5 separate regions of the Homo sapiens genome follow, and all the other regions are linked to region 1. The links are contacts of gene promoters, found by promoter capture Hi-C in blood cells and fetal thymus (Javierre and others, 2016). All regions are on one chromosome and are shown on one strand. The core of a region is centred on a gene start or on the middle of the fragment in contact, and the rest is flanking DNA. Distances in the headings are between cores, read along the strand shown.

Evidence for each region. The method cuts DNA at HindIII sites, captures the fragments that hold promoters and counts their contacts. A CHiCAGO score of 5 or more calls a contact.
Region 2: a contact is called between a fragment that was not itself captured here and the fragment with the promoter of WDR73 in region 1, in 3 of 17 cell types (endothelial precursors, M0 macrophages and M2 macrophages). The highest score is 6.0, in endothelial precursors.
Region 3: a contact is called between a fragment that was not itself captured here and the fragment with the promoter of WDR73 in region 1, in 3 of 17 cell types (M2 macrophages, neutrophils and endothelial precursors). The highest score is 8.1, in M2 macrophages.
Region 4: a fragment that was not itself captured here is called in contact with the fragment with the promoter of WDR73 in region 1 in 17 of 17 cell types (M2 macrophages, M0 macrophages, naive CD4 T cells and 14 more); the score reaches 11.3 in M2 macrophages.
Region 5: a contact is called between a fragment that was not itself captured here and the fragment with the promoter of WDR73 in region 1, in 17 of 17 cell types (neutrophils, naive CD8 T cells, naive CD4 T cells and 14 more). The highest score is 15.5, in neutrophils.

The regions. Positions count from the first base shown.
Region 1 is chr15:84,652,153-84,657,174 of GRCh38, reverse strand. WDR73 (WD repeat domain 73) reads left to right here and starts at 2,892. Exons shown (of 8, transcript NM_032856.5): 1 at 2,892-2,941; 2 at 3,476-3,543; 3 at 4,373-4,461. The coding sequence starts at 2,901. It overlaps NMB (neuromedin B), which reads left to right. Exons shown (of 3, transcript NM_021077.4): 3 at 1,766-2,043. The coding sequence ends at 1,801. RefSeq lists enhancers at 2,906-3,145, 2,572-3,539. The HindIII fragment of the contact is 10,475 bases long and covers 1-5,022 here.
Region 2 is chr15:84,888,894-84,893,915 of GRCh38, reverse strand. It overlaps SLC28A1 (solute carrier family 28 member 1), which reads right to left. Exons shown (of 19, transcript NM_004213.5): 5 at 3,382-3,473. Among named protein-coding and RNA genes, the nearest start is that of SLC28A1, 6.7 kb to the right of the region's middle. RefSeq lists an enhancer at 3,671-4,239. The HindIII fragment of the contact is 2,956 bases long and covers 487-3,442 here.
Region 3 is chr15:84,845,447-84,850,468 of GRCh38, reverse strand. All of the region lies in intron 5 of ALPK3 (alpha kinase 3), which reads right to left. Among named protein-coding and RNA genes, the nearest start is that of ALPK3, 31 kb to the right of the region's middle. The HindIII fragment of the contact is 4,724 bases long and covers 1-4,412 here.
Region 4 is chr15:84,806,509-84,811,530 of GRCh38, reverse strand. No RefSeq gene overlaps it. Among named protein-coding and RNA genes, the nearest start is that of ALPK3, 8.3 kb to the left of the region's middle. The HindIII fragment of the contact is 178 bases long and covers 2,634-2,811 here.
Region 5 is chr15:84,788,528-84,793,549 of GRCh38, reverse strand. It overlaps ZNF592 (zinc finger protein 592), which reads right to left. Exons shown (of 11, transcript NM_014630.3): 5 at 2,667-2,845. Among named protein-coding and RNA genes, the nearest start is that of ALPK3, 26 kb to the left of the region's middle. The HindIII fragment of the contact is 1,228 bases long and covers 1,812-3,039 here.

The sequences.
Region 1 (5,022 bases), core at 1,643-4,142:
TGAGCCGGGCCCCTGCTCCAATGTCAGGAGGGCCCAGCTGGGGCCATCCCCGGATCCTGCATGGGAGGAATTACCACCCAGTACTGTATTAGGGTGTGACTGTCTGACTAGGACATTATGGGTGTGGACCCCAGAAAGCCAGGTTTCCAGGCTTTTCCCTCTTGAGGCAGAGCTCAAAGGAGGAACAGTCCAAAGAAAGGAAGCTGACCTTCCCAGTAGACCCCATGGGGCAAGAAGTAGGGAAAGAAGTTCCCCTGACTCATCACCCAGTCTAAAGTAACAGACTGGGATCATCAGCCTTTTGGAGCAGGACCTTTCTCCCCCAGTCTACACAGTCTTGTCCCACCCATGCTGTTCCCTGCTGCATTAGTCAAGTCCACCTTTGCTGTGTCCTGTGTATGCTTGTGGCCGGAATGGGACCCTGAGGCCCAGAGAGGGAAAGAGAAGTCAGCAGCCAAGACAGAGTCTGGACCTTGTTCACCTGGACTGGAGCTCTTCCCATTCTCTCATCTGCCTCAGTATCCAGTGGTAGGGTTTAGCAACTTCAGTACATTTGACGTTCTAGGCTGAATCACTGTTTCTTGTGAGGGCTGACGTGTGCATCATGGGATGTTTGGCAGCATCCCTGGTCTCTACATACTAGATGCCAGTAGCATCTTTCCCCCCCATCAAGTTGTGACAACTGAAAAGACCTCCAGACATCACCAGATGTCTGCTGGGGGAGAGGGCCCCAAATCATTATTGGTTGTCAGTCACTGATCTATGGGATTCAAGACTCCAAAGCTGGAGCCAAGCTAGCCTCAAGGTATAGCCCCGCTGAGTGGCAACTCCTTCATTCCCTGCTCCTGGTGCTGTCCTTACTGCACACCACCCTCCCTGGTCCTGCTGCTGTGTGCAGAAGGCAGTGTGATGTGGTAGAATGTGGGTTTTGACTACAACGTGCTGGGCTCATAACCTAGCTACTTAGTAGCTGTATGACCTTAGAAATGTCCCTTAACTTCTCTAAAGCCTCAATATTCTTCACCCATAAAATGAAGATAATAAGGCCCATCTCCCATTAAATGAGACCATTTATGTCAAATGCTCAGCATGGTGCCTGGCTCATAGACAGCCCTTAGTAGATGCGAGCTCTTATCAGTCTGTGAGCTCCCTGGCGGCACCTGTTGTAGACTCGCCTTCATATCCCCCAGTGTGCCTAGCATATAGTGTGTGCATTTTGAAGGGAGAGGCATTCCCTAGAAAAGGTCCAACCCAGCCTCAACCAACATCCCTGACTTCCTGAGGCACAGAACCAGCAGCCCCTGAGGACCTCAGATGTAAGGCCTAGGAGCTTGGGCTGGCTGAGTCTGAAGGGAAACAATGTCACCTCTAATGCCCTTGGTTTTGAAGCTCTGACACATGCAGACCAACTAGAGAATCTCAGAAGCAGCAGTGCCTACGTCTGGGGCTTCAGAGTGAGGTCTGGGGCAGAGCTGGGGTGGGGGAGTGAGGACGCTGACACTAGCCCAGCACCAAGCACTGTATTTGGATTTTCTTCCACGATCTTCTTTGACTGTCATGACCACCCTGGGTGGTTGGGGCTGTGTTCTGAGAAAACTACTGCCCCGACCCCTCCAAGGCAATTCAGGGTGCTCTGGGGCCTGCCTCAGCTGACAGCCTGCTGGTGCCCACCTCTGCAGACATCTGGCACTTAGGAATGGCAGGATGCCCCTATCTTTATCAGGAGCCCCTCCCTGGCTCAATTCTTCTGTATGTTTCTCTTCAGTACAGGAGGCTGCTGGTACAAATACTGCAGAAATGACACCAATAATGGGGCAGACACAACAGCGTGGCTTAGATTGTGCCCACCCAGGGAAGGTGCTGAATGGGACCCTGTTGATGGCCCCATCTGGATGTAAATCCTGAGCTCAAATCTCTGTTACTCCATTACTGTGATTTCTGGCTGGGTCACCAGAAATATCGCTGATGCAGACACAGATTATGTTCCTGCTGTATTTCCTGCTTCCCTGTTGAATTGGTGAATAAAACCTTGCTCTTTACATACAATGCCTGGTCCTCTCCTTTCACCCGTCTTTTAGGGGATGGGAGGAAAAGGGGGCTGGAGGGCAGAGTGTTCAGTGAGATGGGGCTGGCTCAAAAAGTCCAGAATACCCCATGCCATGGCACCAGCCTGGCACTGACTCTGGCCTCCTACCCATTCATTCAGCAAGCAAATAACGCCTGTTGCATGCCAGGCTTCGTGCCAGGCGCGGGGTTCTACTCTCATCTCTGCCACCTACTGGCGCAGGCAAGTGTCACTAGTTTCCTCGCTAGTAAAAGGGGGCTGCAGACACTACACTGCCGGGCTTTACTCAATACCCCCGCCGGACTTGGAGGGGAGCGCCGAGTTGGGATCCAGACCCTGCCGGCCGCTTCCTCTCTTCTCTGGCCGTCAGAAGGGTTGCCAGCGTTAGCAAATAAAAATACTGGACACCCAGTTAAATTCGAATTTCAGATAAACAATAATTTTATCTAATAAAATGTACCAAATATTGCATGAACATACTCGTAAGAAAGAAATTATTCACCGTTTTTCTGAAATTCGAATTTAACCGGGCGGTCCTGTATTATTTCTGGCCTTGGAGCATTCATTGCCCCTCTCTTGGGCTGCAAACACCTGGCCCTAAAACGGGCGATCATTTGGTCCTCAGGTCCTGCTTGGAGCTGACAGCGGGAAAGTCCCGATTTCAGGTCACTTTTCCCGGAGCTTTCGCGGAGAAAACCCGTAACCCACCCATGCCGGGCCGCAGCTCAGCCTGTTAACCCCGCCCCTAACGGGAGGCCCTGCCCACATCTCGCGAGAGCCGCGCGGCCCCCGAAGGCTCGCAGGCGGAAGTGAGACGCCGGAAGCGGTCGTTGCCATGGATCCTGGGGACGACTGGCTGGTGGAATCCTTGCGCTTGTAAATCGTACGGGGCTGGGACATGGGAGCTGGGCCTGGAGCTTGCCTGGCGGGCGGATGGGTGTGGGTGGAGGCACGTTGGGGATCCTGGTGCAGAGTGGGCCAGCTGTGGCCTCGGGGCTCGCCACCGTGGAGGACTCCGCCTGGGCCTAGGCCCCCATCTCTAGGAAATGGCTCCTTCCTGCGTGCGCGCGTTGTGAGATTACTAGTAAGAGCCGCGCTTGTGAAGACGCAGTGCCCAGTTAGTTTGCGCCAGCCTCTGAGTTCAGCTCAGAACACAGATGATCTCATTGATTCCTCACGTCAACCTTGGGAAATCTGGGTACCCTGGGACGTCCACACATGAGGACCGAGGCTCAGGGACATCAAGGGACTGGCCTGGTCCCAGAAACAGGGAGTAAAATGGGAAGTAAACTCAGTCCCACGTCTGCCTGACTCCAGAGTTTGGGCCACTGAACCATGCGGCTGCCATCTTGGAGTTCTTTGAGCTGTGAAGTGCTGTGCATCGTGTGATTCTGTGTCCCTTTTGTGCAGGTACCAGGATTTCTATGCATTCGACCTGTCAGGAGCCACTCGAGTCCTTGAATGGATTGATGACAAAGGTGGTATACCTTTCTAGCCCTGAAGGAGAGGGAATCTCACTCCTGAGCTGGGTTTCAGGAGCTAAGCCTAGAGGGACCCAACCCACTCTTCTGGGCACCTGAGAGTCACTTGTAGCAATTTGATGCCCCATCAGCACTAATATTCCTCTTATTAAGATCTCTGACCGGGAGCAGTGGTTCACGCCTGTAATCCCAGCACTTTGGGAGGCCGAGGCAGGCGGATCACCTGAGGTCAGGAGTTCGAGACCAGTCTGGCCAACATGGTGAAACCCCGTCTCTACTGAAAATACAAAAATTAGCCGGACGAGGTGGTGCACACCTGTGTACCAGCAGCTACTGGGGAGGCTGAGGCAGGAGAATCACTTGAACCCAGGAGGTGGAGGTTGCAGTGAGCTGAGATCACGACACTGTATTCCAGCGTGGCTAACAAAAAAAGTCTTCAGGCTGGGCACTTCAGGAGGCTGAGGCAGCGGGCAGATTGCTTGATCCCAGGAATTTGAGACTAACCTAAGCAAGGAAACCCTGTCTCTACAAAAAATACAAAAATTAGCCGAGCATGGTGGCTCACGCCTATAATCCCAGCTACTCTGAAGGCTGTGGTGGGAGGATCACTTGAGCCTGGCAGGTTGAGGCTGCAGTGAGCTGTGATCGGACCACTGCACTCCAGCCTGGCTGACACAGCGAGACCTTGTCTGAAAAAGACACAACCAGGTACTCAATTCCTCCATACAAGGCTGCACAGTGAAGGAATGTATCCTTACTTCGGGGGATTGCATGGTCTGCAATCTTTCTAACAATTTGTGACAGCTACCTCTGCTTCTTTTTCCAGGAGTCTTTGTTGCTGGCTATGAAAGCCTGAAAAAGAATGAAATTCTTCATCTGAAATTACCTCTCAGACTTTCTGTAAAGGAAAACAAGGTAACTTAAAATATAAATGCTGAGTATGTCAACTTTTATTTATTTATTAAACATTTGTGGAGCTCCTGTTATCTACCAGGTATTGTCCTGGATACTAGAAAGAGAGAAAGCGCTAGGCCTGCCCTTCTAGTCTAACAGAGGGAGGCACATATGCACAGAGATAAATGCTGTAGAATGTCTCGTGGTTTACAGAGGGCTATCAGAGGAGGAGGTCAGTTATACTTTATCAGAAATAGATTTAGGGAGCGATTAAGGATATAGAGGGCGGTCGAAATGCGTAGAGTGATTAAAGTCACCTAGTGAATGTGTGGTATATAAGGAGTGAGGAGAATATAGTGAGGACGGAACCTCAGGGAACACATTTAAGGGATGAGTACAGGAAGATGCACCCCCCCTCCCCAAAGAATACTAAGAAAGAACAGCCTCTGAGGTAAGAGGAATCTCAGAAAAGGTCAATGTTTCTGAAGCCAAGAGAAGAGAACTTCTCAAGAAAAAAAGAGTTAGTAGCTGTCTAGAGTTCCAATAAAATCATTGAGAGAAGAATTGAAGGCCAGGTGCAGT
Region 2 (5,022 bases), core at 715-3,214, 240 kb before region 1:
CAAGGCCGCCAAGCCAGGTGTGTTTGCAGCATTGCAAGCAGTGAAGCCCTGTGACTGGCTTCCTGGTCGAGTCCCAGGGAGGTCCCAGGACTGCAGAGAGAGGAATGCCCGTGTGGTGCGTGGCAAGCAGGGCCCTAGAAAGCCAGTGAGGCTCTGCAGGCACCAAAACAGCGGAACTAGTCTCCACGAGAGGCCTGAAGAGAAGAGAGGCGGGAGACCAGAATGAGCCCACCATGGAGAAGAGGGGGTCGCCATGGCCACCTGCAAGGATAGAGGACCCAGGACCAGCTGGAGAAGTGGACAGGTCAGGAGACACTTGAGGAGTAATGATAGATAAGCCCCCCCGGTGACCCCCAGAGGAAGGGATGAAGGGAGGTTCCAAATGGACAGAAATTGAGTTCCCGTCACTCACTGGAATGATAACATTGAGGGAGAAGATAAGTTGAGTTATAAAAAATAAAATGACCTTTCTCTCACATGGAAGCTTGTGGGCTGGAGTTCCTACCTGAACGGGTGTCATTGAGACACACGGGTGGAGCCCCACAGAGCGGTGCTGGGGCTGCTGGCACCGGCCATGGGGGTTCAGGGGAGGGGGACCTGGCCAGGGAGAGGCTCCGTGGTCGCCAGGAGGTGAGCTTGGCACTTCAGATGCATTTTCACAATGAATCCTCACAAGACCCCTACAAGGTGGGGTCTACAGTGATGCCCACTTGGAGAGGGAGGCCTCTGAGGCCAGCCGAGATGAGTGCCTCACACAGGGAGGGCATGGGGCTAGGAGGCCAAGAAGGTCTGTGCGCCTCAGGGCCTGTGCTTTGTGGTCGGGGCGGGCCAGGAAGGCTGGGGGGGTCTGGGCAGGCCAGGATGGGGACTCAGGGAGAGGGGGCAGTGTGGAGGGGTCCTCCAGGAGGGGCACAAGGACAGAAGTGCTTTTGGAAGTATTTTATTCATCTAGGATCCATTCACAGGGATTGGTTTGGGGACGGGCAGGACCTGAGCTAAGCTCCTTGAAGACCTCCCTGGGCTTTGGCTGGGAGAGCGGGCAAGAGGCACCTCCTTCTTCTAAGACTGGGGACACCAAGGCCATCCTTGTTAGTCTGATGGTGCCAGCGCTGTCGCTGCACCCATGGAGAAGGCCTACCTAAGGCAAGCAAGCCACTGTCGCAGCTCAGGAGCCAAGTCCTGAGAATATGAGCCTCATTTCTCTATCACAGCTATTCCCAGAACGTCTGTGAACAGCCTCCCCAGGAAAGAGGTGATGTAATAAAGATATTGAAAAGCCAGAGAAATCAAAGTCACCCAGAAACAGAGAAAGTCACTGCTGACCATTGCAAGGGATCATTCAATGATTCAGATTGCATTCCTGACAGCCATGGCAAACATGGAAATAGGATGAGTGGGGTAATTTTCATTCTCTACTGGAGAGAATTCAATTGTTCTTCAAGAGAAACAAATCAGATCTGAGTGAAGGAGGCAGCCAAGGAAACAGAGATGGCCCTGGCTTCAGACCCTGCCAAAGGTGGACATCACCATCTCTAGAAGGAAGCTGTGAGGGACATGGACCCACCCCATCTCAGCAGATGACCCTACTTTCAAGTTCACCAAGCAGACCAGGTCATTGCTGTCGCCTCTCTCACTGCCCCTCCCCTCCAGAGCACCTATAATGACTCTGCATCTGTACCCATCCTCCTTTTTCTTTTTTTAAAATTTATTTTTATTTTTAAAATTTTTTGTAGAGGTGGGGTCTTGCTGTGTGGCCCAGGCTGGTCTCAAACTCCTGGGCTCAAACAATCCTCCCACTACAGCCTCCCACTACATCCTCCCAAAGTGCTGGGATTACAGGCATGAACCACCTGCCATGCCTGGCCCCTCTTTAATTCCAACCTGTCAGAATGAGGTGAGCTTGCTCCTGCAAAGACCCACCCCTCCCGGTGGGGTGGGGAGCTTTTCTACTCCGTGCCAGGGGACCTTGCTCCATCGGACATCTCTTCATCTCCCATTCCTTCATATTCCTTCTACAAACTCCCCACCTCAGCTCGTACAAACAAAGTGTCTCCCACCCCAAACTCATGCCCATCCTTGACACTGGGTCACACCCTGCCCATTCAGCCTCCCCGCCTGATCTCATAAAAATTGATCCAAAAAGCCATTTACACTTGCTGTCTGCACAGCCTCATCTGCCATCCGCTCCAATTCAGTTTTTGCACCTACACCCTAAGTCACCAGTGGCCTCCTTGTCCCTAAATCGGTGGACATGGCTCAGTTTTTGTCCTGCGGGTCTTGCAGAGATGCTGCTGATCTTTCCCTCCTTGAAACCCTTGCTCCTTTGGCTGCCGCCAACCCCTTCTGTGTGGCTGGTCTCCAGGCTTCTGTCCTTGACCCACTTCTCAATTCATTCTCCAAGTGTGCCTGGGGAGCCTCCTCTCTCCCTCAGATGGCCTGGCAGTGGTACCTCCAACAAACTATCCTAATTATCCCCCTTCCTGCCAAGACTCCCTCTGCACGCATGTTCTCTAGCTCTGTGGAAGACACCATCATCCTCCTATCACCCGAGCAGGCCCCTGGGGCAGCCCTAATTCAGGGTTTCCTTCATGCTGCACACCCAGTCATTGCCAAGTACAGCTAGCATTGCTTCCCAAGGACCTCTCCCATTGCCCCCGCCCACCTTCCACAGCTTCATTCTCACACAGGCATTGCAGTCCTCAATGTCTCCATCTCCCCCTCTTTCCTGCCCTCCTTCCAGGGTCCCACCGTGTGAATTCCACCTTGACGCTTCCCTGTTCAAAACCTTCAGTGGCTCTCTCTGGCCTTGAGGGTAAAATCCAAGTCCTTGAGCATCCTCCCATATCCCTACCCACTCCCCATCCTGGGCCCTTTCCTATCTCTCCAGCCCCATCCCCTGACACTCCTTGTCTAGAACTTTACCCTCCAGACCTTACAGTGCAGACGTCGAACTTTATCGAAACCCACACCCTGCCAGTTTTCACCTTTGCTCCTGTGACTCCTCTGTGTGGAGTGCCTTTGCCCTCCTTAGTATCTATCACCTCCACCTGGCTAACTCCTACTTAGCCTGTGAGACTCCAATGTCACCTCCTCCTGGAAGTCCTCCCTGATCATCCCCCATTCCTCCTTGGTGTTCCCAGATGACATGCTGCATTATGTGGGACTATTTCTTCCGCCTCCCTTACTGATGAGGGAGTGCCTTGGGAACAAGATCTGGCCTGGCTTAACAGATGCCTCAGTACCCAGCAAGGGAGCTGGACCTGAGTTGGTGCTCAACAACCATTTGTTGAATGACTGGGTGAGTGAATGACCCTGCCCTGAGACATGGATAGCTGAGGCAGGAGTCATTGTGTCCTGGGTAGTGCTGGGCCCCAGGCTCACCAGTGCAGAGCAGGCCTGTGCCGATCCATCGAAACAGCTGCATGTGCTCCCTGCAGAAGCTTCTGGCTCTCAGGGCTGGCTGCAGGTTCCTCCTGGGAACAAGACCAGCAGGGTCCATGAGTGCATGAGCAGACCCCATCTGGGGGAGATCCTCAGCACCTCCACTCAGGTATGTCCCCAGTAAAGTGGCAACAGGGGCAAGCCAGGGCTTGCCTTGACATCCCCACAGGGCTGCAGGGCAACCCCAGCCCAGGGCAAATGTAGAAATGGTTCAGGCCTTCCTGCCTCTGTGGCAGCACCCACAGGCCCCACTACCCCAGTGATAGTCCCTGCCTCCAGGGCTCAGGAGGAAGTTCACTGAAAAGGCAGAACCTCATCAACATACAGAAATGTGGCCGGTGGGGGGGCGCGGTGGCTCACACCAGTAATCCCAGCACTTTGGGAGGCCCAGGAGCGTGGATCACTTGAGCCCAGGAGTTCAAGACTAGCCTGGGCAACATGACAAACCCCTTCTCTACCAAAAACACAAAAATTAGCCAGGCATGGTGGCGTGCGCCTGTAATCCCAGCTGCTCAAGAAGCTGAGGCAGGAGAATCTCTTGAGCCCAGGAAGGGTTCGTGCCACTGCACTCCAGCCCAGGCAACAGAGTGAGACCTGCCTAAAAAAAAAAAAAGAGAGAAAGGAAGGAAGGAAGAGAAAGCAAGCAAGCAAGAAAGAAAGAGAAAGAAAGAAAAAAGAAAAGAAAGAAGGAAGGAAGAGAGAAAGAAAAGGAAGGAAGGAAGGAAGGAAGGAAGGAAGGAAGGAAGGAAGGAAGGAAGGAAGGAAAGAAGGAAGGAAGGAAAGAAGGAAGGAAGGAAAGAAGGAAGGAAGGAAAGAAAAGAAAAAGGAAAAGAAAAGAAAAGAAAAACATGGATGGCTGCCTCCCCTCCCCTGTCGTTCATCCACCTGCCCATGGGACACACATTGAGTAGACGCCCACTCAATGCTAATTGGAATCCACCCACCAGCTGCCATTTTAAGGAGCCTCACCTCCTCTCAGTCCCCACCTCCCACCTCCTCCTGAGAGGGTGGAGGAGGCATTCTTCCCATATCCCCTGCCCAGGCAGAGAGACGGAATCCCTCCCCCACCACCACCCCCTGCCCATCACGGTGTCCTCAGCTCCGGATCTGGCCAACAAGGACCCAGATGGCCCAGGCATCAGGAGGTGGAGTTCTATGCTCACCTCAGACACTCGCTGCCTATGCCATCCTGGCTGGTCCCTTCCCCTCTCTGGGCTTCTACCTCCCTGTGTAAAATCAGGGACCTTGCCCAGTTCAGGATTTTTAACCGGAGTCTTCAGACTCCCCGAGGTACCCCAGAGACTGAATGGGGGTAGAAGGCAGAAGGGGGAGGTTGAGAGGGAGGCCTGGCTGGTTCAGGGCAGGCCCCACGGTACATACTGGGGTTCCTGATGGGATTTCGTTTCAGCTGTTCAAAAGCAGGTGGGGAGCCTGTGACTTGGCTCACCCTCGAGGCTCATGTGCCTGTGCGTGTTGGCTAAAGCGCCTTTATTCCTCCCTTCAACAAAGGTTCACGTCCCCCCAACTCCCATCCGCCAGGAGGCCCGGCTCCCCATCCTGTTCCCAAGCAGCCTCCACCCC
Region 3 (5,022 bases), core at 801-3,300, 190 kb before region 1:
GAGGCTGCAGTAAGCTATGATTATGACACTTGCACTCCAGCCTGGGCAATAGAGTAAGACCCTGTCTCTTAAAATAAAAACATAAAAATAAAAATAAAAAGTTTTATTCACCTTTGCATTCTTCACAGTACCAAACACATAAGGGGTTCACAGGAATGAACAACTGAATGAAAAATAGTATGGTTTATAACCCTCTAAGGGGGCATGGCCCTGGAATGCTGGTTTGGAAGAGCAAGGGACAAAACCAGGACCTTAACAGGGATGGGGCAGGGCAGTCATTTTTGCATAAGTTTTGGTAGTTTATAATTTTTAAATAACTGCTCTATTTCATCTAAGTTGTTAAATTTATGTGCAGTTTTTCATAGTAGTCTTTTTTTTTTTTCACCCTGTCAATCCTTACAGGGTCTGTAGTGATATCCCCTCTTTCATTCTTAATACTTGTATTTTGTGTCTTCTTTTTTTTTTTTTTCTAAGTCTTGCCAGAAGTTTATTGATATTATTGATCTTTTCAAATAACTAGCTTTGGGTTTATTTTCTCCATAATTTTCCTGTTTTTGGTTTCATTATTTTCTGTTCTTTTCTATCTGTTTGCTTTGGATTTATTTTTCTCTTCTTTTTCTAGTTTTCTAAGGTGGGAACTTAGGTTATTGATATTTCAGATCCTTTTTCTTTTCTAATATAAACATTTTAATGCTATACATTTTCTTCAAGGCACTGATTTAGCAGCATCCAACATTTTGGTATGTTGTATTTTCACTTTCATTCAATTTAAAATGTTTTCTAATTGGCCTTAGGACTTCTTCCTTGGCCCATAAAAGTATGTTCTTTAATTTAAAAGTGTTTAGAAATTTTTCTATTATCTTTCTGTCATTGATTTCTAGTTTAATTTCATTTTGGTCAGAGTACATACTTTGTATTATTTCAATTACTTCACATTTGTTAAGATTTATATTATGGTCCAGGATATAATCTATTTTGGTGAATATTTTATATGCACTTGAAAAGAATGAGTATTCTGTTGTTACACAGAGTATTCTATATATGTCTATTAGATAGTTGGTTGCTGGTGCTGTTCAGTTCTTTTATATCCTTACTGATTTTCTGTCTACTAGTTCTATTGATTACTGAGAGAGAGGAGTGTTAAAGTCTCCAACTATAATTATTGTTTTCTGTATATTTCTACTTTCAGTTCTGTCAGGTTTTGCTTCATGTATTTTGAAGGTATGTTGTTAGGTGCATACACATTTTTTATTGTTATGTCTTCTTGAATTGACCCTTTTATCACTAGATAGTTCACTATTTTTCTCTTAGTAATTTTTTTTTTTTGAGACAGAGTTTTACTCTTGTTGCCCAGGCTGGAGTGCAATGGCGTGATCTCGACTCAACGCAACCTCCACCTCCCGGGTTCAAGTGATTCTCCTGCTTCAGCCTCCCAAGTAGCTGGGATTACAGGCATGCACCACCATGCCTGGCTAATTTTTGTATTTTTAGTAGAGATGGGTTTTCTCCATGTTGGTCAGGCTGGTCTCGAACTCCCGACCTCAGGTGATCTGCCTGCCTTGTCCTCCCAAAGTGCTGGGATTACAGGTGTGAGCCACTGCACCCAGCCAGTAATTTTCTTTCCTCAGAAATCTACTCTGTCTGATATTAATATTGCCATTCCAGCTTTCATCTGATTAGTGTTTGCATGGTATATATTTTTCTATTATTTTACTTGTAACTGACCTATATCACTATATTTGAAATGGATTTCTTATTGACAGCATCAAGTTGGGAAAGTTTTTCTGGTCCTGTCTCACAATCTGTCATTTAATTGATATGCTCAGACCATTTATAGTTAATATAATTATTTATAGGTTTAGATTTTACTCAATAATTTTACTATTTGTTTTCTATTTGTTTCCTGTTTTTCCTTCCTGTGTTTCCCTATTCTTGCCTCCTTTTAGATTAGAACATCTTTTAGTATTCCACTTTAACTTACGTAGTGTGATTTTTACTATATCTCTTTGTATAGTATTTCTGTTGTTGCTCTAGGGCTTACAATATACATACTTAACTCTCCACAGTCTACTTAGAGTCAATATTTTACCACTTCAAGTGCCATACAGTAATCTCACCATCATATAGGTCTCTTTACCCTATGCCCCTTTATGTTGTATTTGTCTTATATATTATATTTGCATACATTAAAAAAACTCCAGCAATGTAATTTTTTTTTTTTACTTTTTACCTTCAAACATATTTTAAAGAAATCAAGATGAAATAATCTATTATATTTACCAGGATATTTACCATTTCCATTGCCCTTCTTTCATTCTTGATGTTTCAAGTTTCCTTCTGGTATTATTTCCTTTCTCTATGAAAAATTTACTTTAGCAATTCTTTTTCTTTTTATTTTTTTTTTTTTGAGATCAAGTCTGGCTTTGTCACCCAGGCTGGAGTACAGTGGTGCAATCTCAGTTCACCACAACCTCTGCCTCCTAGGTTCAAGTGATTCTCTTGCCTCAGCCTCCCCAGTAGCTGGGATTACAGGTGCCCCCCACCACCCCTGGCTAATTTTTTTTGTATTTTTAGTAGAGACAAGGTTTCACCATGTTGGTCAGGCTGGTCTCGAACTCATGACCTCAGGTGATCCACCTGCCTCAGCCTCCCACAGTGCTGGGATTACAGGCGTGAGCCACAGCTCCCAGCCTAGCAATTCTTCTAGAACAGGTCTGCTGACAATGTAGTGTCTTGTTTTTTCCATTATCTGAGAATGTCTTTATTTCACTTTCAATACTTAAAGATATTTTTGCTAAATGTAGAATTATAGGTTGAAAGTTCTTTTTTTTAGCATTAAAAAAAAATGTTGTTCCACTTCCTTTTGGCCTCCATTGTTTCTGATGAGAAATCTATAGTCATTCAAATCATTGCTTCCCTATAAATAATGTATTATGTTTCTCTGGCTACTTCCAAGAGTTTTTCATTGTCTTTACTTTCCAACAGTTTGGCTATGAGGTTTCTGGATGTGGAATTCTATGGGCTTTTCCTGTTTAGGGTTTGCTGAACTTCTTGACTTTTGCCAAATTTTGAAAGTTTTCAGCCATTATTCCTTCAGATATTTTTTTCTGCATCACTGTCTTTCTCTTTCTCCTTCTGATTATCCAGTGACACAAATGTTAGACTTTTTGATACAGCACTCCAAGTCTCTGAGGCTCTGTTCATTGATTTTTCTGATTCCTCTCTCTCTCTCTCTCTCTCTCTCTCTCTCTCTCTCTCTCCCCGTTTCTCCCTCCCTTCCTCTCTCTCTGTGCGTGTATGGGCGTATGTGTTCAGATTGAATAATTTCTATTGCTTTAACTTCAAGTTCACTGTCTTCTCCCTGTCACCTATCACTCTGTTGTTGGGCTCAACCAGTAAGTCTTTTTATTCAGTTATTGTAAATTTCAATTCTAAAATTGATATTTGGGGCTGAGGTGAGTGGATCACCTGAGGTCAGGAGTTCAAGACCAGGCTGGCCAACACAGTGAAACCCCTGTACTAAAAATACAAAATTAGCCAAGTGTAGCGGCACACGTCTGTAATCCCAGCTACTCCCTCAGGAGGCTGAGGCAGGAGAATCTCTTGAACCCAGGAGGTGAAGGTTGCAGTGAACCGAGATCATGCCACTGCAGCGTGCCAGGCAATCCAGCCTGGGCAACAAGTGCAAAACTCTGTCTCAAAAAAATAAAAAATAAAAAATGAATAAAATTGATATTTGGTTCTTCATATCTTTTACCTCTTTTTGTTTGTTTGTTTGTTTGTTTTGAGACAGGGTCTCCCTTTGTCCAGGCTGGAGTTCAGTGGCGTGATCTCAGCTCACTGCACCCTCAACATCCTGGGTTCAAGTGTTCTTCCCACCTCAGCCCTGCAAATAGCTCAGACTACAGACACACACCACTATGCCCAGCTAACTTTTTTGTATTTTTTGTAAAGACAGGGTTTTGCCATGTTCCCCAGCCTAGTCTTTTACCTCTTTGCTGAGACTTTCTATCTTTCCATTTGTTTCCAGAGTATTCACCCTTACTTGCCACATTTTTATAGTAAAGTCAGATGATTTTAAAGTCAGATGATTCTAACATCTGTGTCACTGTGGCATTGGCACTCTTTGATTGTCTTTCCATGCAAGTGGAGATTTTCATGATTTTTCATATGCCATGTAACTTTTATTGTATTTGGACATTTTAAATATTACAAGACTCTGATTCTTGTTTAAATCTTATGGAGAGTATTAACATCTTTGTCTTGGAAGGCAATCTACCTAGTTGTGTTCAGGCTACAAATTCCATTCAGGCCTCTGAGGTTATAGTTTCAATCTCGGTTCCATTTTCCAAGCATTTCCAATGCTGTTTGGGGTTTTTTTATTGTTGTTGTTTTATTTTTGAGACGAAGCTTTACTCTGTCACCCAGGCTGGAGTGCAATGGCATGATCTCAGCTCACTGCAACCTCTGCCTCCCAGGTTCCCGGGTTCAAGCAATTCTCCCACCTCAGCCTCCCGAGTAGGTGGGACTACAGGCATGTGCCACTATGCCTGGCTAATTTTTTCTATTTTTAGTAGAGAAAGTGTTTCACTATTTTGGCCACGCTGGTCTCGAACTCCTGACCTCAAGTGATCTGCCTGCTTCGGCTTCCCAAAGTGCTGGGATTACAGGCATGAGCCACCACACCCGGCCTGCAGTGCTATTTGGATCTGCCCTGTGTGTGTGCCACCCAGTGGCCAGTGTGGGACTTACATGATGGTTCATTAGTGTTTTTATTCTCGAAGTTTTTTATTCTCCCAAGTATTTCATTCTCAAAGTTTTTTATATGCTCTTCAGAATCAGATCCATGCAGGAACAATCTGGGGATGAGCCCAGAAATTTATAAAGAGTTTATAAACCCAGAGGTCATTAATGATTCTCAGAGGTCATTTTCCCAAGCTTTTCCCTTTCCACGGTTTCCCCCATAGGGCCCCCTTTTTCAGTCTTCTGGCCAAATAGCTGGAGCTTCCTTTACCCCTCTCT
Region 4 (5,022 bases), core at 1,473-3,972, 150 kb before region 1:
AAGCAATAATGGGTTAACAGAATTGGGTTATGAAGTTGCAAACATTGGCCTCCTGAACAAGGTAGAAGCAACCCAATGAGTAGAGCTGAAACATAAGGTCAGAGCCAGGCCCACCCAATGACAGTGGCCAGATGCCAGTCCCTGAGGGTTAACGTGGAGCTCCTGGGGACCACAGCTGGTCCTCAGGCTTGGGACAGAGAGAGACTAAGGGGAGACACATGTGGTCCCATCTGTGTGGAGGAGAGGAAACGGGGGGCGGGGAGCAGGGACTGATCACGGTTGGCAGGAAGGGCCATCATTAAGTAATCCCTACACCTCTAGCCTCTCCCTGCCACTGCAGGGCCTCAGCACTGTCTAGACAACCCTGGTGGAGGGGCCCTAGCCTGTGCCTGCACATCTCCAGGGCGTGAGAATGTGCTACTCCTCCAAGCAGCCCATTTCATTTTCAGGCAGATTTTCCTTTTATTCTGAGTCAAATTTTGCTCTGGAGCCACACAGATGTCTAGACTCCTTTTTGATATGATAGCTCCGCAAAGACGTGAAAATACTGGTCATGAAATACCTCTTTTCTTGATGAAACATCAAATTCCTTCAACAGCTCCTTGAACAAAATGGCACTGAGAGCCTCAGGCCATGCAAGATGTTCCTCTCTGGATGCATCTACTTTGCCAATGTTCACCTCAAACTCCTGTGCCATGAATGGTCATAGTTCACACGAGCTTTTTAGAGCAAAGTACATTATAATGATCATCAACTTCATTCTGGTCAGAAGACTTTCCAGGTCTTATTTTGCTTCTTTGGCACCCATGTGGACTCATGCTGAGGTGGCCTTCTCCACAAGCTGTGGCACAGGTCTGAGGTCAGGGGTCATTGAAAACTTCCTTATGAAGCATCATTGGCTTCCACTCCAGTCCTCAACGCTCCTCAAACCACATCTCAATGCGAGTCATTAATAGCATGGTAAATTAATCAAATACCTATCCAATCCCTCCAGTTTCCTCTATTTTTCCTTCGCTTGATTCCACTCATTCTAAAGTCTCAGCTCTGAGTTCAACAAAGCCCAGTTCTTTCTGCTGATCCTGCCCTCCCGTGGGAACTTACTGCCTTGTGCTACAAGCTGCCCTTCCTGCCAGCTGGTCTGCAGGGCTCTTTGCTGCTTGTCTGACCTCCCTCCAAGAGCTGCCACAGCTCCCAGCTCAGGCAGCTGAGCCTCTATTCCAAGAGGGTGGACACTCCAGGTCCTACCGCTCTGGGATGAGCTGGCCACTCTGGCATGCTTCTATCCAGGGACTGGATAGCTGTGTGGCCACAGCTGTGCTTGGGTAAATGGACACCAATTAAAGGATTACTGGCAATGAGAAGTCAGTCCTGATTCTCATTTGATTGGAAAGGGAATTTGGGACTCAATGATAGAGCTGCCACAGCCACGTGTCTTCCCCAATCCACCTGCTCTGATTCCATCCAGGACTGCCACAAATCTAGGCATGTCCCAAAATAAAGCAATCATTAGATAAGAGGATAAGTGTGTGGTCAGGGGCCAGCAATTAGTCAGTTGGGCCCAGTATATAAACTCCCTATCTTCAACTGAACCTAGAAAAGGCTCTTCCCAGCCCAGGCTTCTCCTGGTCTTCTTGCAAGGTAAACTAGTCTTTTTCCTCCCTTTCAAGTCTTTGTCTTTTTCTAAGAAAGTCTTTGAATCTCAGCTCTCCTTTTCCTCAACAGCTATATCTTCTCATTCTTTAAAAAACTTTTAATACCGGCTGGGCGTGGTGGCTCATGCCTGTAATCCTAGCACTTTGGGAGCCTGAGGCGGGTGGATCACCTGACGTCAGGAGTTCGAGACCAGCCTGGCCAACATGGCAAAACCCCGTCTCTACTAAAAATATGAAAATTAGCCAGGCGTGGTGGTGGGTGCCTGTAATCCCAGCTACTGGGGAGGCTGAGGCAAGAGAATCGCTTGAACCTGGGGGACAAACGTTGCAGTGAGCCAAAGATAGCACCACTTCACTCCAACCTGGGTGACAGAGTGAGACTCTGTCTCAAAAAAAAAAATTAATTCCTCCCAGCAACTGCTGCCACAGTTACTGCTCACCCAAGTGCTGCCGTTGACGAATCAAGCCACTACCTCCCTTTTGAGCTCACCAGCACCATTTCTATCACTGTCTTAAAAAATGCAGTTTCCAGGTTCTAAACTCTCCATCTGTTCAAATTCTTCTGCCTGCCCCTCCACAAATTTCTATCCCTTTTCCCACCATCACCTCCCCTGACAACCCCCACTTTCCATCTTCTCCTTTTCCCCACTTTTAAATCATATCAAAACCCCTCCTCCATAGGCAAAGAGCTTCTTAGAAAGCAGCACCTACTTTCTTGTTCAGATACCAAGAATATTCAGCTCTGTTATGCACAATGGATCTTAGGGGAAAATTCTAAGCAAATTGTTCTACAGACTAAAAAACCCCACAGAAAAGGAGGGATTATGTGTGTGCCCTGTGCTATAATTGAAAGGGGAGACCTAGAATCAGTGGGGTTCCAAGTTTAATGAATGCCAGATTGAAGAGGAGCTTAATCACTCTCTCCAAATATCAAATGCATCATCTACCATCCCCATTTTCATATAGAATAGAGGCAAAGCTTACAGGATTAAGTCTGAGAAGATCTGGTAGGTCTGTACTTGATCTCAGCCAAAAGGCCAAGAAGCGAAGCGATTTAGCAGATCTGGACGAACACTCTATGTATGATCCCACGTCCTTTCATGAAACACCCTGGTGCTGCAGATCCACTGTCACTTGGGGACTCATTGTGATGGAAGCTTCTCCTAGTTAGAATGGATTTACATGTCTTTATCACATCCTTCTGCACCCCTTTTCCTTATGGTCAATTAAATATTTGTTGATTTTAGTATTCATGCACTGAAAACTCAATTTAAATCTGTAAATGGGTATATATAGATATATATATAAAATAAGAGCTTTTTTTTTTTTTGAGACGGAGTCTCGCTCTGTCGCCCAGCGTGGAGTATGATGGTGTGTTCTCAGCTCACTGCAGCCTCCACCTCCCAGGTTCAAGCAATTCTCCTGCCTCAGCCTCCTGAGTAGCCGGGACTTCAGGCACCTGCCACCACGCCGGGCTAATTTTTGTATTTTTAGTAGAGACAGGGTTTCACCATATTGGCCAGGCTGGTCTCAAACTCCTAACCACATCATCTGCCCGCCTCAGCCTCCCAAAGTGCTGGGATTACAGGCGTGGGCCAAAATAAGAGCATTATTAAAGGCCAATACATGACACAACGAACCAACTCAAGAATTCACCTGGACCTAGAACCCTAATGAAAAATGCCTGGTGACAGAAGGATTTGAAGATGCTTGGAAGTTATGAAGTAGACAAAGTTCAAACTTCAAAAGGCTTGACAAAAGCCAAAAAAAAAATTGCGAGGTACCGTGGCTCACACGTGTAATCCCAGCATTTTGGGAGGCTGAGGCAGGAGGATCCCTTGAACCCAGGAGTTCAAGACCAGCCTGGACAATACAGCCAGACCCCATCTCTAAAAAGATAATAACAAAATTAGCCAGGCATGATGGCACACACCTGTAGTCCCAGCTACTTGGGAGGCTGAGGTGGGAGGATCACTTGAGCCCAGGAGTTTGAGGTTGCAATGAGCTATGATTGTGCCATTGCACTCCAACCTGGGTGACAGGGCCAGACCCTGTCTCTAAAAAAAAAAAAAAGTAATAAAATTTAAAAAGCTGCAAAACTTAGGATGATTAACAATGAGACTTTTTTTAAAAAAAATAGGTACTCATAAAGAGCTAGAACTCTATCTGAGAAAGCATAAATCTAATGCAAACTGAAAAACAAATAAATGCAAATAAAAGTGATATTGCCTTGGAAGGGCTGAGTAAGAGGGATCTTTTCCATTTTTGTATGCATCTAGGTCAAAAGTAAACAAATAAAAAAATAAGCAAAAGAGGAAATACAAGTTCTTGCCTTTGGGAAGGTCTATTTTGACATGAACGTATACAGACTGAGAAGATAAAAATCAAGGTCCCCAGAGATATATAAACCAACCCCTTCATTTGATAGATAAGAGAACTAAGGCCAGGAAAGACCAAATGACTGTCACTTACAGAAATGAGACTGCACCCTAGGGCGTCTGATTACTATTATGACAATGAACTTCTCCATTCTATCACTCGCCAGTTTACTCAAGAAAAAAATAGGGCTAAACTCCCAAGGAAATAATTCTGCAGAAGCAAGAAGCTATATGCTCAGGACTCTTCATTGCACTGATGAAGTAGGGAATTTACATGTTAAACAGGAAATGGTCAATTGTATTGATTTGGCATGATGAACGTGATTACAATTATGGAAAATGATGATTTAGGCTGGGCATGGTGGCTCACGCCTGTAATCCCAGCATTTTGTGAGGCCCAGGCGGGCAGATCACAAGGTCAGGAGATCGAGACCATCCTGGCTAACACGGTGAAACCCCGTCTCTACTAAAAATACAAAAAAAAAAAAAGAAAGAAAATTAGCTGGGCATGGTGGCAGGCGCCTGTAGTCCCAGCTACTCAGGAGGTTGAGGCAGGAGAATGGCGTGAACCTGGGACGTGGAGCTTGCAGTGAGCCGAGATCACGCCACTGCACTCCAGCCTGGGCGACAGAGACAGACTCCGTCTCAAAAAAAAAAAAAGAAAAGAAAATGATGATTTAAAGGCTATGTAGAAACATGTACTGGACATTTTCTGCGTTAAGTGGAGAAAAGTAGAGTACAAAATCAGAGACAGTATAGTGTCAGTCACCCCTGAGTGTGAATTCCAGCTCTGCCCCTTATTAGCTCCATGGCCTTAAGGAAGTCATTCAACTACTCTGAACCTCAATTTTATTGTCTCCAAAAGAATAGTAGTAGTATGTATCTTACAGGATTGTTGTGAAGCTAAATAAAAATGAATGTGAGAATAATGTCTGCCATATAGAAATGTTCAATGTTAACCACTGCTGCTATCATAATTATACCATAAATTC
Region 5 (5,022 bases), core at 1,176-3,675, 140 kb before region 1:
GCTATCTTCAGTAATCCCTTTCGCTGAGTCACAATTCATTTGGTCTGGCATTCCTTACAAAAAGGTTTGATAAACTGAACTGCTTTTGAGACATTTCTTTTTACTTGTACATAAGAAAATATGTAATTAAAAATGAAAAGTATTAATCCATCCGTACAATTAAACATTTCTTGGGCCAGGTGCAGTGGCTCATGCCTGTAGTCCCAGCACTTTGGGAGGCCAAGCCAGGTGGATCACCTGAGGTCAGGAGTTTGAGACCAGCCTGGCCATCATGGTGAAACCCCATCTCTACTAAAAATACAAAAATTAGCCAAGCGTGGTGGCACATGCCTATAATCCCAGCTACTCAGGAAGCTGAGGCAGGAGAATTGCTTGAACTCGAGAGGTGGAGATTGCAGTAAGCCAAGATGCTGCCACTGCACTCCAGCCTGGGTGACACAGCGAGACTCCATCTTTAAAAAAAAAAAAATTTTTTTTCTTGGATTCAAGATTCAAAGATAAATATTTAAGTGTTGATTGTATTACTATTGGATTGGATTTGATCTTAGAACAAGCAGCATACACTTAAATCAAGGCTAGAAAGGTATTTTTAAGTGTTACAGGATACTGTAAAAACATATTCAGATGTTTGGTTTAAAATATAGCCTGGGATGCTGCCAAGCAATGCTCCTCAGCAACTTGGTGGTAAGTGCTTTGTATAATCCTGTCTTAGGTTTGTCTTGTTTTTAATGTACTTTAGATACTCCATCCTCCATAAGATGAAAAAGAAATCAGTCTACATTTTTAAATGTTTATAATGCCAGGCACGGTGGCTCACGCCTGTAATCCCAACACTTCGGGGAGTTGAGGTGGGAGGATCGCTTGAGCCCAGGAGTTATGTGACCAGCCTGGGCAACATGGTGAAACCCTCTCTCTACAAAAAGCACAAAAAGTTAGCCAGGCATGGCAGTGCATGCCTGTAGTCCCAGCTACCTGGGAGGCCGAGATGGGAGGATCACCTGAGCTCGGGAGGTCAAGGCTGCAGTGAGCCACGATCACACCACTGCCCTCCAGCCTGGGTGACAGTGAGACACTGTCTCAAAAAAATATACAAATAAAATGTTTACCCCAAGACAGAAATGTGGGAGTCATTGCAAAACTTTAATATACGTGTTAGCTTCCCAGAATGATCTTTCTAAAACATACTAGCCAGATTACTGCCCTGCTGCAAATCCTTCTGTAGCTCCTCAATGTCCGCTGGAAAATGTCCAAATGCCTGCCAAGAAATATAAGGTCTTGCATGGCCTAGCCTCGCCTCTGCCAAACTCCTCATCCCTCATTCCATATAAAAGCTATTGTCAAATCTTGATGCTTCTTCCTAAACCCCTGTCAAATCTACCTTCTCTCCATTCCCACGATCATGCCTTCAGTGAAGCCCTCAGCATCTCATCTGGACCATCATACTTGCCTTTCAAGAAGTCTTCAGTCTCTCTCCTCACTAATATATGTGTTCGCTTCCCAGAATGATCTTTCTAAAATATACTAGCCAAATCACTCCCCTGCTGCAAATATTTCTGTAGCTCCTCACTGTCCATTGGATAAAGTCCAAATGTCTGCCAAGAAATACAAGGTCTTGCATGGTCTGACCTCTGCCAACTCCCTAGTCTCATTTCTCCCCACTCCCACAATTCATCCTGACATTCCTCTATACAACCATACTCATCATTCCTGACACCTCTTTTGTGTATGCTGTTATTCCTGGTCAGGCCCTTGCCAGGTATGGTTTCCCCTTCTTTTGTCTGAAAATCTCCTAATATCTCCTTTAGGAAGCTTTCCTGACCATTTCTCTATTGTGGGACTTAGCACTCTGGGTTATAATTACCTATGTTCTTATGTTTGTAACCTACCAGGGCAAGGGCTGTGTCTTAATCATTTTTGTATCCTGAGTGTCTAACACAATGCCGAAGACAATAATAAGTACACACAAAAAAGTCAAATGAACTAAAACCAAAAAAAAAAATTTAATGCCAAAGAGCAGAAAACAACTTACAGATCAATGAGCTCTAGAGGGAAGTTTTTTCCCTCACTTTGATCTTTTCCCTGAAAATGACTTCTTGCTTATGTTTGACACAAAGGAGGAAATTCCATTGAAAATAAGAGTTTTCTTGGTTTTACCAAGAGGCTGATCCTTTTTTCCAGTCTCAGGTTTTGCCCATTTTGCCACAAACTGACAAAAATTAACAAAAAGAAAGATACTAAAGCCCTTTGAGTTTGGCATCTTGCAGCCCCATTTGTTAAAACCTGCAAACATTTCCAAGTACTGTAATTAGTACATTCATTATTGAAACAGCACTTTACATTTAATGTGCCAAACATAACTTGGTGAGCAAATTAAACTTACATACGTTTTAAAACCAAATAGACAAAGTATTATATGTCTAATCTCCCCAAAACTTCAAAGCTAATTTTCTAATATTTAAGTTTTTAAAACTCCTTATTCTTCTCTCTCTTGTTCTTCCTGTCTGCTACCAAATAAAAAATGTCTGTCCACATACCATCCAATGCTCTTGTCCTGTGTAGACTGGAACCCAAGCCTCTTAAGACCAAAACTATCTGAAATGAGTTCTGGCTTAGGAAAAGGACCAGCCATTGGGCAATACCAGGACAGCAAGCCAGGCAGCACCCACCTGTAGCCCACCTTGCGGGCATAGTGCAGGCAATTCTCCTTTACATGGGTCTGGAAGTAGGCAGAGCGGCAGAGGACCCCACACTCCGGGCAGCAGTAGGGGGACTTGTGTGCATGAATCCGCTGGTGGGCACAGAAACTGCACTGGTTGGGCAGCAGCATTTGGCATACCTGGCAGGTCTAGGAAAGAACACCAAGAAAGCAGATCATGCAGGGGCCATAGGCCTGTGGCTCTCCAATCAGGGCTGTCTGGTTTGCTAGTACATGGGTCAGAATAACCCCTTCCCCCAACCACTCTCTCTTCCAACTCTCCTGGACACTTCTGACACCCCTAGACCTCATTTCCAGTGCTGATACTGATACCCAAGCAAGCTTTGTCTGACACCCTATTAATCAGAGACAGACCTGACCCTATTCTCTCAAAGACCAGTTCCGCCCCAGGACTGTGTTTCTTTCCTGTGGCTTAGCAGAGGACCAGCTTTTCCTTTGCAGAGGCCTAAAGCACATCTTGAATTCTAAGACCTCACTGCACTGCTAGACCCACCAGGGTCTCTGTCACAGCTCAGTAGAGGCAGTTCTTGCCATCTACCCCCAACATTGGCCTGGTAGAGACCTGCTCAGCACCTCGAGTCAGGTGGATCAGTGACTTCCAAAGTGGATCTGAGACCACCCTGATTGGTACTCAGAAGGCTCTCAATAAAGACTGACTGAGTGGTCTTGTCAGTTTCCATTGCTCTAGCCCTGTTTGCCCACTCTGCAGGTTAGGAGAGTTGCGGGGGTGGGGGTTGGGGGGTGGGATGGGTGGCGGGGGTTCCCTGAGCCACAGCTAAGCAAACATACCCACAGACAAGGGCAGATTAGGTAGCAGCTCCTTTGTTCCCAGCCCCAGGAGAAAACCAGGGGAAGTACAAGTACTACAACCAGACTAATTACGCTCTGATGGGCAGAGCTCTGACAAGCAGCCAGCCCAGAGGGAAAAAGTAAAAGACTTCGCTGGTGCCTGCATGCTGGAGAGGCCCTTCTTAACTTCTTAGTAAAGGGGACACCTGTCCTACTCACAGAGGTGGCCACTGATGTGGGGTCAGAGGAGCTGACTAGAGGGATATAGAAGCCAGCTCGAAGGGGCTTGCCACTGACCAAAGATAGGATAACATGAGCATTAAAAAGAATGACTGAATATGTAAATATACTGAATATATAAAAATCAATGAGCCATGACAACATTTAAACTAATAGAGGAGGTCACCTCAAACCCACTAGGATGGCTACTATTTGAAAGAACAGAAAATAAGTGCTGGTGAGGATATGGAGAAACTGGAACACTTGGGCACTGTTGGTGGGAATATAAAATGGTGCATCTACTGTGGAAAATAGTACAGTGGTATCTCAGAAAATTAAACACAGAAGTACCATATGATCTAGCAATGCCACTTCTGGGTGTGTACCAAAAAGACTTAAAAGCAAGGTCTCAAAGAGATACACTTTTATGCTTATGTTCATAGCAACATTATTCACAATAGCTAAGAAGTGGAAATAACCCAAGTATCCATCAATGGATGAAAGGATAAATAAAATGTGGTATGTACACACAATGGAATATTATTCAGCCTTAAAAAAAGAAGGGACTTTTTTTTTTTTTTTGAGACAGGGTCTCTGATGCCCAGACTAGAGCGCAGTGGCATGATCTTGGCTCACCGCAGCCTCCACCTCCCAGGCTCAAGCAATTCTCCTGCCTCAGCCTCCTGAGTAGCTGGGATTATAGGCACGCACCACTACCACCTGGCTAATTTTTGTTTTTTGGTTTTCTGTTTTGTTTTTTTTGTTTTTTTTTTTTTAAATAGAGACAGGGTTTCACCATGATGGCCAGGCTGGTCTCGAACTCGTGACCTCAAATGATCCACCCACCTTAGCCACCCAAAGTGCTGGGCTTACAGGTGTGAGCCACCATGCCCGGCCAAAAAAGAAGGAGATTCTGACATATGCTACAACATAAATGAATCTTGAGGACATGCTAAATGGAAAAGCCAGTCACAAAAAGATAAATGCTGTGTGATTCCACTTGTATGAGATACCTAGAATAGTCAAACTCCTAGAGACAGAAAACATAAGGGTGGTTGCCAGGGCTTGGGAGGAGGAAGATAAATGGGAATTGTTTTTTGTTTGTTTCTTTTTTAAAACGAGTACAGGGTTTCAGTTTTGCAACATGAAGAGTTCTGGAGACTGGTTTCACAACAGTGTGAATATACTTAACATTAACACTACTGAACTGTACACATCAAAATGATTGTGATGGGAAATTTTACATTACGTGTATTTTACCACAATTTTTAAAAAATAGAAGAGGGACTCTTAGAACA